Linked DNA regions of Homo sapiens: regions 1 and 2 are each linked to region 3. Evidence: promoter capture Hi-C in 16 types of primary human blood cells and fetal thymus (Javierre and others, 2016). All regions are on one chromosome and are shown on one strand. Each heading gives the region's core, a stretch centred on a gene start or on the middle of the fragment in contact. The rest is flanking DNA. Distances are from core to core; before and after follow the strand shown.

Region 1 (4,361 bases), core at 1,237-3,736, 1.0 Mb before region 3:
GCTATGATTGTGCCACTGCACTCTAGACGGGGTGACAGAGCAAGACCCTGTCCTGAAAAAAAAACAAAAACAAAACAAAACCCAAAAAATGGTAGTTCAAATACATGCACTAATCTCTCCTGAAACCTCTTTAAAAGTACAACAGATAAGAAAAAATCATGGCAGCCTGCAAGGACTTAAAGAATGGAAGAAGAGACTACAGTAAATGAGAGCTATCAATACAATTTCGAAGGTTGGAAAATGAAAGAAGTAAAACTCTTAAGTGCCTGCAATAGGGAAAGCCAATAGGAAACAAGTAAAACCCCTGTAATTAACTTCTGAAAGACTCAGGAATTAGATGTATCAGGTATAATCTGTAGGAGTGAGAAAGAACTAAAGACAGGATTGTTTGAACATGTGTATAAGGGATAATAGATCTACCCCCAGATCTTCCTTATTCCATGTAGCCACATAGTTACCCTTATCTTCCTCTGACAGAAGACCGGGTTGAAGCTTGCTCTCTGGAGAGGCTGAGCCAGAGAAGTTCTGGATTCTGGAAGACCAGAAACAAATCAGAGTCTGGTGAGATGCTGCACTAATAATGGGGATTAAGTGAAAGTCTGGTCGTCAGATTTATAATCTGCAAACAGAAGACTGGAATTTCTTTTCGTCAAAACTGAGTAACCAAAGAGAACCTAAGGATACTGAAAAGTGAAATGACTGGCCACGCCTCTATAGTGAGGTCCACTATTCAAAATGCTTCACGCATTGCACACTGAGCTTGCATTCAGTGTGTTAGTGACTGTTAATTATAAATGGATAATTAAAGATCATCAAATATTTAAGACCTAAAGAAAAAGAAGAAAAGAGAAAAGAAGCAATGCAGGAATCATAAAAACAGTGTTTTTAAAGATATAATTACTACCTTTAAAGAACTGGATACTATAAAAAGACTGAGATATCTTCAGGACATCTATTGTATAACATTGGTGACTATAGTTAGTATGTTGTATTCTTGAAAAATGCTAAGAGAGTGGATATTAAGTGTTCTCACCACACAAATAATAACCATGTGAGGTAATGTATATATTAATTTAGTCATTCTACAGTGTATATCCACTTCAGAATATGTTGTACACACTGAATACATAGAATATTATCTGTCAATTTAAAAATTAAGAATGCTTAAAAAATAGACTATAGATTAGAAAGTGAGAAGACTAGAAAATAAAAATAATCAGAATAAATTCAGGGGTGGCTGGGTACAGTGGCTCACGCCTGTAATCTCAGCACTTTGGGAGGCCGAGGCTGATCGCTTGAGCCCAGGAGTTCAAGATTAGCTTGGGCAACATGGTGATACCCTGTCTTTACAAAAAATACAAAAAAATTAGCTGGGCTTGGCGTTGCATGCCTGTAGTCCCAGCTACTTAGGAGGCCGAGGTGGGAGATCATCTGAGCCTGGGAAGTCGAAGCTGCAGTGAGCCGTGATTGCACCACTGCACTCCAGCCTGGGTGACAGAGTGGGACCCTGTCTCAAAAATAAACACATAAATAAATAAAAATTAAAATAAATTCAGTGGAAAAGTTAGAAGATAAATTTGAGACCATTTCCCAGAAAAGTAGTATAAAAATGAACAACAAAAAAGAAAATAGCAAAGTGAGTGCAATTCATGCAGGAAATGTAATATCCAACTAATAGATGTTCCAGAAAAAGGAAATACATGGAGAAGAAGAAATTAATAAATAATTTTAAAAATTGCCCCAGAAATGCAGTACTGTGTATGTATTTCCAGATTAAAAGGATCTTTTCGTTGGGCATGGTGGCTCACGCCTGTAATCCTAGCACTTTGGGAGGCTGAGGCAAGAGGATCCCTTGAACTCAGGAGTTTGAGACCAGCCTGGGCAACAAAGTGAGATCCTATCTCTACAATAAAATTTAAAAATCAGCTGGGTGTAGTGGTGTGTGCCTGTAGTCGCAGCTACTCAGACGGCTGAGGTGAAAGGGTCCTTTGAGCCTGGGAGTTCAAAGGTGCAGAGAGCCGTGAATACAACACTGCACTCTAGCCTGGGCGACAAGCGAGATTCTGTCTCAAAAGAAAAAGGAAAATAAAAGGATCTTTTGAGTCATCAGCACTGAGAAACATTATCATGAAATTTCAGAACATTTAGAATTAGAGCTTGGGTTAAGCATGGAGTAGAGTGAAGGATCAAAACGGATCATGTAGACAAAAATTGGGAGTCAGAGATACTGCCCCTCAGCAGCAACTTCTAGCTCATTTGGAAGCTAAAAGATAATGGAATGTTCAGTGGAAGGTGAGGGACAATGGCACATGAGAGAAAGTGATTTTCAACCTGAAGTTTTATGCCCAGCCTAATTATTAATCAAGTGCAAAGGCACCACTGATATATTTTGAACTTAGAGTCTCAAAATTCATATCCCATACTCCCTCTCTCAGAAAGCTGTGGGAGGACATGTACTGTATTATAATCCATGAATAAGCCAGAAAGGAATTCATAGTGTCAGAAAACAGGACAGCCAACACAGCAAAGTAAAAGGAATTCCAGGATAATTGCAAATGTCTCAGGATGATACCTTATATCTGACCTAGAAAACAACCAGTCCAGAATGGAGTATGAGGACAGAAAATTGATATAGAACTCTTGAAGGGGGAAAACTAAACTGATATATGTTGTGTTCGAGCATATTGGAAGCAGATATGTAACAGAGGGAGTTTAAAGATGAATTAGTAATAGAAGATTAAGTGCATTAAAAAATGAGGCAATTACAGTTCTAGGACAAGCAAAAAATTTGTGAGAGGAAAATATAATAGTTCACTACTTGGCTTAGCTGTGAACAATATTTATGTAATTATAACCCTCTAAACATTGATGTAACAAAAATTTGTGATAAAACTCTATTGGAAAAAACTATAGTTCAGGAGGGCGTGCGTGTTTGGTGATGCTGTAATCATTAATAGTGTGTAGTATGTCTTGCATTGTTTTAAGCAACACACACAATTGATCCTCATGATAATCTTATGAGGTATGTGCTATTATCTTCCCTTTTTTATAGGTGAAGGAATTGAGGCATAGAAAGGCTAAATAAGAGTTATTTCCTCATCTTCAACAGTAAGAAATGAATGGATAACATCTGAAATTGATGAAAGCACTGTAAACATTTTTTGTTTTAGAAGTAAAGAGAAGAAATAGCTAGGATGTATGAATCAAGGGTAAGGAAGGGTGAGACTGGAATGTTATTTTTTATTAACCTTGTAATATGAGTATTATTTTAGTACAAATAAAGATTTAATTTTACAACATTTTTCCTCCAAAACCAAATAATACATTAAATGATGTTACCTGAGTAATAGGATATACATATATTTCCATATGCGATAGGTAGATTTAGAGGTATGTGAGTATTTACGTATATTGGCTATACCAATATGCTTTATTTATACCGGTGCCAAAACCAACAAATCTCCTTAGCATTTAGGCAAGAAATTTAGAGTCAGATGGACTGAACTGTATATTATAGTAATTTTCCTAATTATTCACTACCTGTAATTATTCTTACCTGTAAGAAGATTATATGGCTGCACTTACTGTCATGTGAGTTGCAGTGCCTTCCTATAAGAGAAGAATTCTTCCTGGCCCCACAGACTTCCACCTTAGTCAGGGGATTTGCTTGGCCAGTGGAATGTGAGCTGAATGTGACCTTCCTCCCATGACCCAATACTTTTCATTTTCTTACCTTTCCTATTCAGTGAATTGCTAAAGTACTGAAGTCAGGGTTTAGAGTTCTTCACCTTCACACTAATCTCACATTTTCAGTTACCAATACTTCTGGATGATACCTGCTAAATATCTTTTGAATATGAGTACTCTTCCCAGTTCACGCTTCTAATTACCTGGTCTAACCTATTGTCTACTCATCTGGTTGGCAAACTATTGCTTATGTGCAAATCTAGCTGAAACACAGCCAGGTTTAGTGCTTTACATATTTATATTCAATGTCTGTGTCTGCTTTAGTGCTACAGTGGCTGAGTGGTTGTGACAGAGATTGTATAGTCCAGCAGTCCCCAACCTTTTTGGCACCAGAGACCAGTTTCATGGAAGACAGTTTTTCCATGGACTGGTGTGGGGGGATGGTTTTACAATGATTCAAGCACATTACAATTATTGTACACTTTATTTCTATTATTACCTTATAATATATAATGAAATAATTGTACAGCTCACCATAAGGTAGAATCAGTGGGAGCCCTTAGCTTGTTTTTCTGCAACTAGACAGTCCCATCTGGGGGTGATGGGAGACAGTGACAGATCATCAGGCATTAGATTCTCATAAGGAGCATGCAACCTAGATCCCTCGAATGTGC
Region 2 (4,771 bases), core at 305-2,804, 1.0 Mb before region 3:
TTAGGTTTTTGTTCTTTAGGCTAAATATTTCCACATTGTCTTGCAAATAGTGGATGATGGATATATATTTGTTTAATTGTCAAATATTCTTGATTCAAAAATACCATTGATTTAGGTTATACATTTTCATTTAAAAAATCGCTTCATTAAATGTATATAATTTTTAAAAAATGAACAAGAAACAGTGTAAATTTTCTCATTAAAGTTTTCTTTTTTGGGACAGAGCTCACTCTGTTGCCCAGGCTGGAGTGCAGTGGTGCAATCATGACTCACGGCAGCCTTAACCTCTCCAGCTCAAGTGATCCTCCCACCTCAGCCTCCTGATTAGCCACCATGCTTGGCTAATTTTTAAATTTTTTGTAGAGACAGGGTCGCACTATGTTGCTTAGGCTGGTCTTAACTCCTGGGTTCAAACAGTCCTCCCACCTTAGCCTCCCAAAGTGTTGGGATTACAGGGGTGAGTCACCATACCTGGCTCTCATTAAAATTTTATGCTACTTTTTCTGATTTTGCAGTGAGGCTAAATATTTTTTGCATTCAGTCTGAAGATTCATCTAAATTACATTAGTTTTCAGTAGTTATGCATAGTATCACGATGATGTTGATCTCCGTAGCACTCCCCTCCTTTGAGATTTGCAGTATAATTTTAAGACATATATAAGAATAATTGAGTGTGGTAAACTCACCATGTCAAATGCAATAAATCATTTTCCAATCCTGTTCACGTAGCCTATTCTTTTATTCCCTGTATTTCTTAATACCACACTACCCACCCAAGTCAAAAAGCTTGAAGTCATTCTTGACCCCATTTTTTTTTTTAGATGGAGTCTTACTCTGTCACCCAGGCTGGAGTACACTGGCACAATTTTAGCTCATTGCAACCTCCGCCTTCCAGGCTCAAGTGATTCTCCTGCCTCAGCCTCCTGAGTAGCTAGGATTACAGGTGCCTGCCGCCTGCCACCACACCTGGCTAATTTTTGTATTTTTAGTAGAGATGGGGTTTCGCTGTGTTGGCCAGGCTGGTCTCGAACTCCTGACCTCAAGTGATCCACTCACCTCGGCCTCCGAAAGTACTGGGACTACAGGCGTGAGCCACCGCGCCCAGCTGGCCCCATTCTTTCCACCCTTAGTCGCTTATGTTCTTTTGATTCAGCTGTCTAAATACCTGCATCTCTCTGTTTCTGGTCACCCTGCTTGGTGCAGGCCATCATTTTATCTCAACTGGATCATTACAGTAGCTTCTGTAGGGTTGCCTCTGTTCCTTTCATTTTCCTTGCTACAGCCAGAGTGATAATTCTAAAATACAAATCTGATAATGCCACTTCCTTTAAAATCCTTTTTTCTTCTTTCTGGATTGCTTGCTTCTGTTCCTTTATTTGTTCTAATACAGTCTCATCTCTGACCATTCCCTCCCTCCTCCTCACATGGTGAACTTCGACTCAACTAACCTTCTTTGTTTCTGATGTGTACCAGGCCTCATGTGCCTCTGGGCCCTTATGCATACAGGTTTCTTTGCCTGGGACATAATTTTCTCTAATGCCAATTCTTTTGGTTCATTCCTTTTTATTTCCAGGCAGGTCTTGGCTTGAGTGATGCTTCCTTCAGGAAGCCTTTCTTATATACTCCTAAAGCACTCTTGCCTTTCCTTACCATGCTGTATAGTAACTTCCTTCAGAAGTCTATAAGCTCCTTGATAGCAAGGACATCTATCTTGTTCTCCATTTTATCCACATGCATGATACATAGTAGGTGCTTAATATGAATTGTATAAGTCAGTGAATCAATCAAGTCAGTGATTCAAATCAATAAATACTTGTTGGCATTATGCTAAGCATGGTGGTAGAAGAGAAAAAATATGCCAGATGGTCCTTTTCTAGAAGATTATCTTTTAGTTTGGGAACAAGATAATTATATAGGAAACAAATAGAGGACAACATAAAAGCACCATATAATAAGATGTTAATTTGTCTGATACAGACTGTAGAAGTTTTTCATTTCAGAGAAGGGCAAAGTTAGTAAGACTGAGGCTGTCAGAGAGGACCATGTTGGTGAAATGGGACTTGAGCTAGTATTTAAAGAATAAGACATGATATGGCAGAGGAGGAGAGGGAGCTGTTTTCATTGTGACTGTCTCCACTTGAGCTTTTCTAAGCCTCACTAATTTTGTGTCCTGGTTAGACCAGAAACAGACTTAACTCCTCAGTCATTCATGTGATTTATAAGGCCTTTTAGTATCTCTCTTCCTTTACTTCCTATTACTCCCAGTGTAATCTCGTAGCTCTAGAAATTCTTTCTTAATAGCCCATGACTACACTAAGCTTATCCTCACTTCCATACCTTTAGAGAGGGAAGCAACCTTGGAGATCATGGACTATCTCTCCTCATAACAGAAGACATTTAGTCTCTCTCTAGATGAGAGAATGGCTTAGTAAGGAAAAATGGACCTAGCGAGCCATGGTGGTATGTGCCTATGGTCCTTGCTACACAGAAGGCTGTATAGAGGGAGGCAGATGGGAGGATTGCTTGGGCCCAGGAGTTTGAGACCAGCCTGGGCAACATAGTGATACCCTGTCTCAAAAAAAAAAAAAAAAAAAAAAAAGAAAGAAAGAAAGGACCAGCATTATAGAGGTGGTTATTAGAGTGTTGGCAAATGAATGGAGCCTGGGAAAGAAAAACTAATGGAGGCAAGAGGGCATGGATAGAAACAATTTTATATTTTTCTTCTCAGAATCATTTATTCTGGCTTCAGAATTCAAGTCCTTCCTCTGATCGAGTTAGTGCAATAATCTGGGAGGGGAATGAGTGCAAAAAGATGGATATGTCTGTGTTGGAAATAAGTGGCATCATCATGAGCAGGGTAAGACTGAATATGTTTTCAGATTTTTCAAAAAATATACGAAGTGATCAGGAGCTATTTTATAAGAATCTCTTAGTGATTAAAACAGTATGACTCTGCTTTTGAAGCACATATATATCATATTATATATAATAACATTATTAACATATATATGTAATTTTGTAGTCAGAGTCTTTACATGGTAGTATATACATTATTTGTTATACCTGGTCTCTATTAACATAATCAACTGTTCAGGTATGCTCTACAGATATTCCTTATCTCATTGAATCCCAATTTTTAATAAGATTTGAAAGTCATAAATCTGTATGTCATTTGTATTTATACTTTTAGAATGTGTTTTTAATAGTCTAAATAGTGTTTGATAAATACTGCTTTGTAACTCCATTTAGCTAACACAATAATGGTGGAAATTTTAAATTAATTCACAGGTCAATGCCTATCAGCAAGGAGTAGGTTATCAGATGCTGGGAAATGTTGTCACTATTGGATTAGCATTTTTTCCATTCTTACATCGACTTTTCCGTGAGAAGAGCCTTGACCAACTAAAGTCCATTTCAGCTGAGGAGATCTTGACTCTCTTTTGTGGGGCACCACCTGTTACACCTATTATTGTTTTGTCGATAATTAATTTTTTTGAAAGATTGTGTCTTACTTGGATGTTTTTTTTCATGATGTGTGTGGCAGAGAGAACATATAAACAGGTCAGTGGAGAAATAAGGAAAATTTTTTACCTGTTTTTGTATATGATATTCCATTGAGTTGCTTTTGTTCTCTTGATTTGGTCTCTCTTCAAGTTGATGTGGGCAATAAAGGATTGATAAGTGGACTTTTGATATTTGTGGATTTATTGTTTGTGTTATTGACTATTTACATATTACACGTTGTAATCTGAAATTTTGCCAGGCCTCATGTGTAGAATAAGTGGCTTAGCCAGTGAGTGAGCCTAGCCGACTGCTTAGCATCTGCACCTCAGTGTCCCTTTTTTGTTTTTTATCCATAGAATAAAATAATTATCTACATGTGATAATGTTTTTGTGAAAAATGGCCAAGTGAGAAATAAATTTATTGAAATTTGATAAAAATTATGGATGGAGGGTTTAAAATATTGGTGATATGCAGAAGAAGTGTGATTTATTTTATTTTATTTTTTGAGACCGGGTGTTGTTCTATTGCCCAGGTTGGAGTGTAGTGGTGTGATCACGGCTCACTCCAGCCTTGACCTCCTGAGGATCAAGCAGTCCTTCCAGCTCAGCCTCCCCAGTAGCTGGGACTACAGGCCTGCGCCACCACACCCGACTAATTTTTTGTATTTTTGTAGAGGTGAGGTCTTACTTTGTTGCCCAGTCTTGTCTCGAACTCCAGGGCTCAAGTTATCCGCCCGTCTTTCCTCCCAAAGTGCTGGGATTACAGGGCGTGAGCCACCATGCCCAGCCCCAGAAATGTGATTTTGAATGGAAATTTAATTTGAGAATAAGCCAGAATCATGTATAAACATTTGAGTTTGTGAAGTAGTGGATCCATAAATGCCAACCATTCTTTGGGGGTCTCCAAAGAATATTCCTTGCAAATGTTGAGTGTACCACATTGTGAAGAAGTATGTTACTATGTAATGTGCTTTGGAAACAACAGGGTAACGAGCTATTAATGAAAATTTTCACTGCCCATCTTACTGAACACTGATTAGAACTTCATTCTTTTTAATATTTTTGTATTCTGGGAATATCGTTGGCAATTATATGAATACACAGACACATACATACATTTCACTGTGATTTTTTTTAAATCTCTTCTAGAGATTTTTATTTGCAAAACTCTTCAGCCATATTACTTCTGCCAGGAAAGCTAGGAAATATGAAATACCTCATTTCAGACTTAAGAAGGTGGAGAATATTAAAATATGGTTATCACTGC
Region 3 (4,652 bases), core at 336-2,835:
CACCTGTTGTTCAGGACTGGGTATCGCACAGCCCACACATGCCCACACTACAGCAATGACCTCCGGTATTGTAACTGTCTACATTAGGAGTCAGTAGGGAGTAGGAATTAAGAACAGGGGCTCTAGAGTTCAGCTGTTTGGGTTCTAGTGTCAGACCCAGCACTAGCTCTGTAACCTCTCTGAACCTCAATTTGCTTCTCAGTAAAATGGAGATAGCTACCTCATGGGATTCTTGTAGTTAATGTATGTGGACCCAGGTCCATGTAATATGGATTCAATAAATGTTAGCTATCTTGAAATTGCATTCCTCATTTAGACTCTAAGTTGTTTGAAGGCAGAAATGGATCTTCCGAACATAGCTCTCAGTTCACCCTCGAGAAATGTTCATTGAGTCAGTTAAGAGGCCTGGGGCCAAACTGCTGCGGACCTGTTTTCACATTTGTCAAATGTCTGGATTGCACTTCAGATATTTAAAGTCTGTATGACTCCTAACATTCATTCATTCATCAAATATTTGTTGACAACCTATTATGTGCCACTCACTCTGCTAGACAACGGGGGAAGGGACAGGCTGGAGGAGCCCGTGAGGTAGCAGGGCCAGACCACCAGTTTGGAGCCAGACAGGCCCGGCTGTGTGAATTCTTGCTGTCACAAGTCAAAAACAGTTGTGTAAGCCACTTGATTTCTCTGAACCTCAGCTTCTCTATGGGCAAAAGGGGATGGGTATATTTTCCCCAGAGATCTGTGATGAATATTGAAAGGGTTAAGCTGTGTAGTGTCCCAAGCACAAGCCAATGAAATGTTGGTGGACGTCCTCATTCTACTCCCACCTCCTCAGCTCCCTTACAGGGAAAGGAGATACGCGTGTAGGTAAATATCCTATGCGCCAAGTCAGACCTAGGAGTGGGAACAGAATTCACAGCTGGGATCCAGAAGCATTTCTAGGCGCACCCTTTGAGGAGTAGGTAGGAATTGGACTCCTGGAAATTCCAGGCCCAGGGAAGAAAGCGAATTGTGAGGAGGAACGGTGGTCTGGGTCTGAACGGCTCTGAGAGGTCTTCAAGTTTGGGGGATGACGTTGGGCTGTACGATCCTAGGAACAAGAGGGTGGACATCTCCCCCCAACCAACACACCCGCGCCGGGCCCTGGGACCTCCCGGCGGATACCCTTTCCCAGTCCCGCTTCCCGCGAGGTCCCAGGTGCAGCAGGAGCGGGTGGCCGCTTGGCCACAGGAGGGCAGCAGCGGCCCTTCCTGACCCCACCCCGAGCACCTCTTAACTTTCCCGACGCCGGTCCTCCCCTAGGGGATTGAAGGCTGGGCAGAGTCTGAGTCCACCCGGGTCGTGCTCCCCCCGCTCGCCCGGCTCCTCCGCAGTCCAGGAATCTCCCCGTGGCTCTCCCCGACCTGGAGGGGTGGACGCCCCTGGCCCCCAGTCCCCGGCCTGCGGAGGGGGCCGGTGGCTGCGGCCCTGCGCGGGGCCGGGGCGGGCCGAGCCAAGGGCCGCCCCCGGCCGACCCTCCCCCTGCCGGGCCCGCCCTCCCCGCCGCGGCGCTGGAGGAGGGCGGGGCGGGGCCCTGGGGTCAGTCTGAGCCTCCGGCACCGGCCGCGCAGCTGGAGGCGGCGGAGCGGAAGGTACCCTGGGCCGGGGCTGCGGGCGGTGGGGCGTCTTGGGAACTCGTCCCCAGGAGAGCACTTTCCCTTCCTCGCTGGCCCGGAGATCGGGGCCCGTGCGAGGAGGGGCTTCGGCCTGGGCGTGGACCCCGTTCCCTCCAAGCGGAGTCGGCATCCGGGCTGGGCGGTGGTCGGACCGCGTCGGCCCCTCCCCGGGCTGCAGCGAGGGGGCCCGGACCTGCCGGCAGGGGCTCTGGCCTCCTGAGGTCCGAGTCGGAGCCCCTTCCCTTCTCCTCCCAGCTTCCCGGAACCTGCCCCGCCGGGCGAGGGGCGAGGGAACTTCAACTCAGACGCCCCAGCCCCCAGGGTGGGCGGCCGCAGGGGACCTAGAGTGGGATGGGGTGGGAATTCCTCCAGGCCAGGAGGGAGGTATGGCGGGAATAGGGGCGGGATGTGACCATTGGGGCCTGCCACTGCTCGGCAGGGTCTGGACGCCGCCCTGGACGGTTCCTGGAGCCCGCTTGTGTTGAGGATAAGGGAGATGGGGAAGGATCCAACTCTGTGTGTGTGTGTGTGTGTGTGTGTGTGTGTGTGTGTGTGTGTGTGTGTGTGTGTGTGTGTGTGTGTGTGTGTGGTGTGTGTGTGTGTGTGTGTGTGTGTGTGTGTGTAGAGAGAGAGAGAGAGAGAGAAAATGAGATTGAGAATCCTCCTTCTTCATACTCGAACCAAGAAAGAGTATCCTGGGGTTTGGGACTGGGATCCCGAGGCCGAGTCCCGCCCTCACTCTGGTTTTAAAGTTGAGAATGCAGTATCTCTTGGTATCTCCAGAACGGATTCCTTCCCTAGGTGTAGGGTGGGCCGGCAAAGTCAACCGGCCGCTCTGGATCATCTGGGAATTCAAGAGAGCGATTGGAGAGAGGTCTGATGTAGCCACACTGTCTTGTCTTGGGGAAGGCCCCAGAAGTTCCAGGCTCCATTCCAGGCCCTGTGTGGGGCTCAGTTGCCCCTCTTAAGGGGTCAGTGGGACAGTCCCTCTGGGGCTGCCTCTCACAGGGAGTTGTCCATGCCATCTTGGCCTTGGGCCTAGTGTCCTGGCCTGGGCTGCCTGCTGTTCTGGCCCAATCATAGCCTGGAGGGAAAGTCTTCTAATTGGGCTGGAGGCTCCAGGTCCCTTAACGCATGCCTCAACCCCGGGTTTCTGTCCTCTGCCTCCCACCACTCTGGTGCCGTCTGAATTACCCTGCTGGGGGGACAGCAGTGGCATACTCATGCCTAAGTGACTGGCTTTCACCCCAGTAGTGATTGCCCTCCATCAACACTGCCCACCCCAGGTTGGGGCTACCCCAGCCCATCTTTACAAAACAGGGCAAGGTGAACTAATGGAGTGGGTGGAGGAGTTGGAAGAAATCCCAGCGTCAGTCACCGGGATAGAATTCCCAAGGAACCCTCTTTTTGGAGGATGGTTTCCATTTCTGGAGGCGATCTGCCGACAGGGTGAATGCCTTCTTGCTTGTCTTCTGGGGAATCAGAGAGAGTCCGTTTTGTGGTGGGAAGAGTGTGGCTGTGTACTTTGAACTCCTGTAAATTCTCTGACTCATGTCCACAAAACCAACAGTTTTGTGAATGTGTCTGGAGGCAAGGGAAGGGCCACTCAGGATCTATGTTGAAGGGAAGAGGCCTGGGGCTGGAGTATTCGCTTCCTAAAGGGCAGTGTGAGGTGGTGGTGGGGTGTGGGGAGTAGAGGCGTTCAGTCAGCCCAGTTTGACAGGATGTGGGACTGAGAGAAAAAGCTAGGTTTGAGGCTGAGATCAGGTTACCGTCGCTTTCTTAACTGCTCCCTGCCTGGTTGGTGCTGGGACTGGCCCTCATTTGTCTCTTCTTTTGGGGCTCCTCCCAGCCCAGACTCTAGCCCCCTCCCCCTTCCCAACAGCCTTGACTTCATCTCAGCTCCAGAGCCCGCCCTCTCTTCCTGCAGCCTGGGAACTTCAGCCGGCTGGAGGTCAGTTCCCCTCCCCAGGGAAGGAGGAAGTGAGGGAAGCTGCGAAGGTGTGATGAACTGTGCAGATGCTCGCTGTGTGTGCTGGGGGTGGGGGACACATGGAAGCCCGGGAAGCTGACTCCTTGCCCTGAGTCACAGGGAGGGGTGGGCAGGGCATGCGGGTGAGCTGGACTGAGGGAGGAAGGGGCTGTTCCAGAGTGGGTGGAGGTGATTCCCTGGTGGATTCTTCTCAGTCACTGTGCTGTGGTAGATGTGTGGCTCCCTACAGTGTGGTCATTGTCCCCTGCCGGGGGCTGAGTGACCCAGTGTTGCTGGCAGGCCTAGGAGGAAGGGGGGAGGAAGGCAGCCTGCCCAAACTCGAGCTGTGGGCATTGCTGGGACTGAGCCTCCTTTGTATTACTTGGGGCTTTGGGGACCGGGTGGGGTGGACCAGGGAAGCTGGCTGGCTGCTACCCCTGTCCTCTGTCTGGGTTTCCCTGCTTCTGCTCTCCCTCCTGCCCCTGAGGTGACATGTCGAAGAGGCACGACTTTGAGTCACACAGTCCTGCTTTGGGTGCTGTCCCTGCCCCTTATAAGCCACAGCTCTGAATCTGTCTTAACCTCACTGAGCCTTAGTTTCCTGGTTTGTCAAAATGGAAAGTGCACCATCTACCTTCCAGGCATCTGGGTACCGAAGGAGATAATTCCTGCCAAAATGCCCGACAGAGTGCCTGGCACCTAGGGGCTCTATAACTATTCTTCCTTTACCCACCTACCACCTGGTAGCTGGTTCTGCTACTCTGGTCCTAGAGAGGGACTCCTCATTTGTGACTGGACAGGTATGACTTGTGCTGAGGGACAGTCTGTTCTAGATTGGACCTTAGAGATTATTAAACTGTAAATGCATCAAAATCCTGGTAACCAATGAAGTCTGACTCGAAACCCTGATGTGTGAAGTAGATAGAAGCTTGCTCCCTGGACGTCCCGCATCCCTGAGCAGCTCTCTAGCTACCTGGAGTCCCCAGGTTGGCAAGTGGATTAGATTGAAACTCATGTTTTCC

Evidence for each region. The method cuts DNA at HindIII sites, captures the fragments that hold promoters and counts their contacts. A CHiCAGO score of 5 or more calls a contact.
Region 1: a contact is called between a fragment that was not itself captured here and the fragment with the promoter of RHOC in region 3, in 1 of 17 cell types (neutrophils). The highest score is 5.4, in neutrophils.
Region 2: a contact is called between a fragment that was not itself captured here and the fragment with the promoter of RHOC in region 3, in 1 of 17 cell types (monocytes). The highest score is 5.3, in monocytes.

What each region holds. Positions count from the first base shown.
Region 1 is chr1:113,745,706-113,750,066 of GRCh38, reverse strand. The region is part of intron 3 of PHTF1 (putative homeodomain transcription factor 1); the gene reads left to right. Among named protein-coding and RNA genes, the nearest start is that of PHTF1, 12 kb to the left of the region's middle. RefSeq lists a silencer at 346-640. The HindIII fragment of the contact is 3,984 bases long and covers 495-4,361 here.
Region 2 is chr1:113,704,680-113,709,450 of GRCh38, reverse strand. PHTF1 (putative homeodomain transcription factor 1) reads left to right here. Exons shown (of 19, transcript NM_001323043.2): 12 at 2,729-2,857; 13 at 3,289-3,561; 14 at 4,654-4,771. Among named protein-coding and RNA genes, the nearest start is that of PHTF1, 52 kb to the left of the region's middle. The HindIII fragment of the contact is 1,532 bases long and covers 789-2,320 here.
Region 3 is chr1:112,704,060-112,708,711 of GRCh38, reverse strand. It overlaps RHOC (ras homolog family member C), which reads left to right and starts at 1,585. Exons shown (of 6, transcript NM_175744.5): 1 at 1,585-1,634; 2 at 3,544-3,612. RefSeq lists a silencer at 1,146-1,865 and enhancers at 3,125-3,174, 3,922-4,476. The HindIII fragment of the contact is 12,151 bases long and covers 1-4,560 here.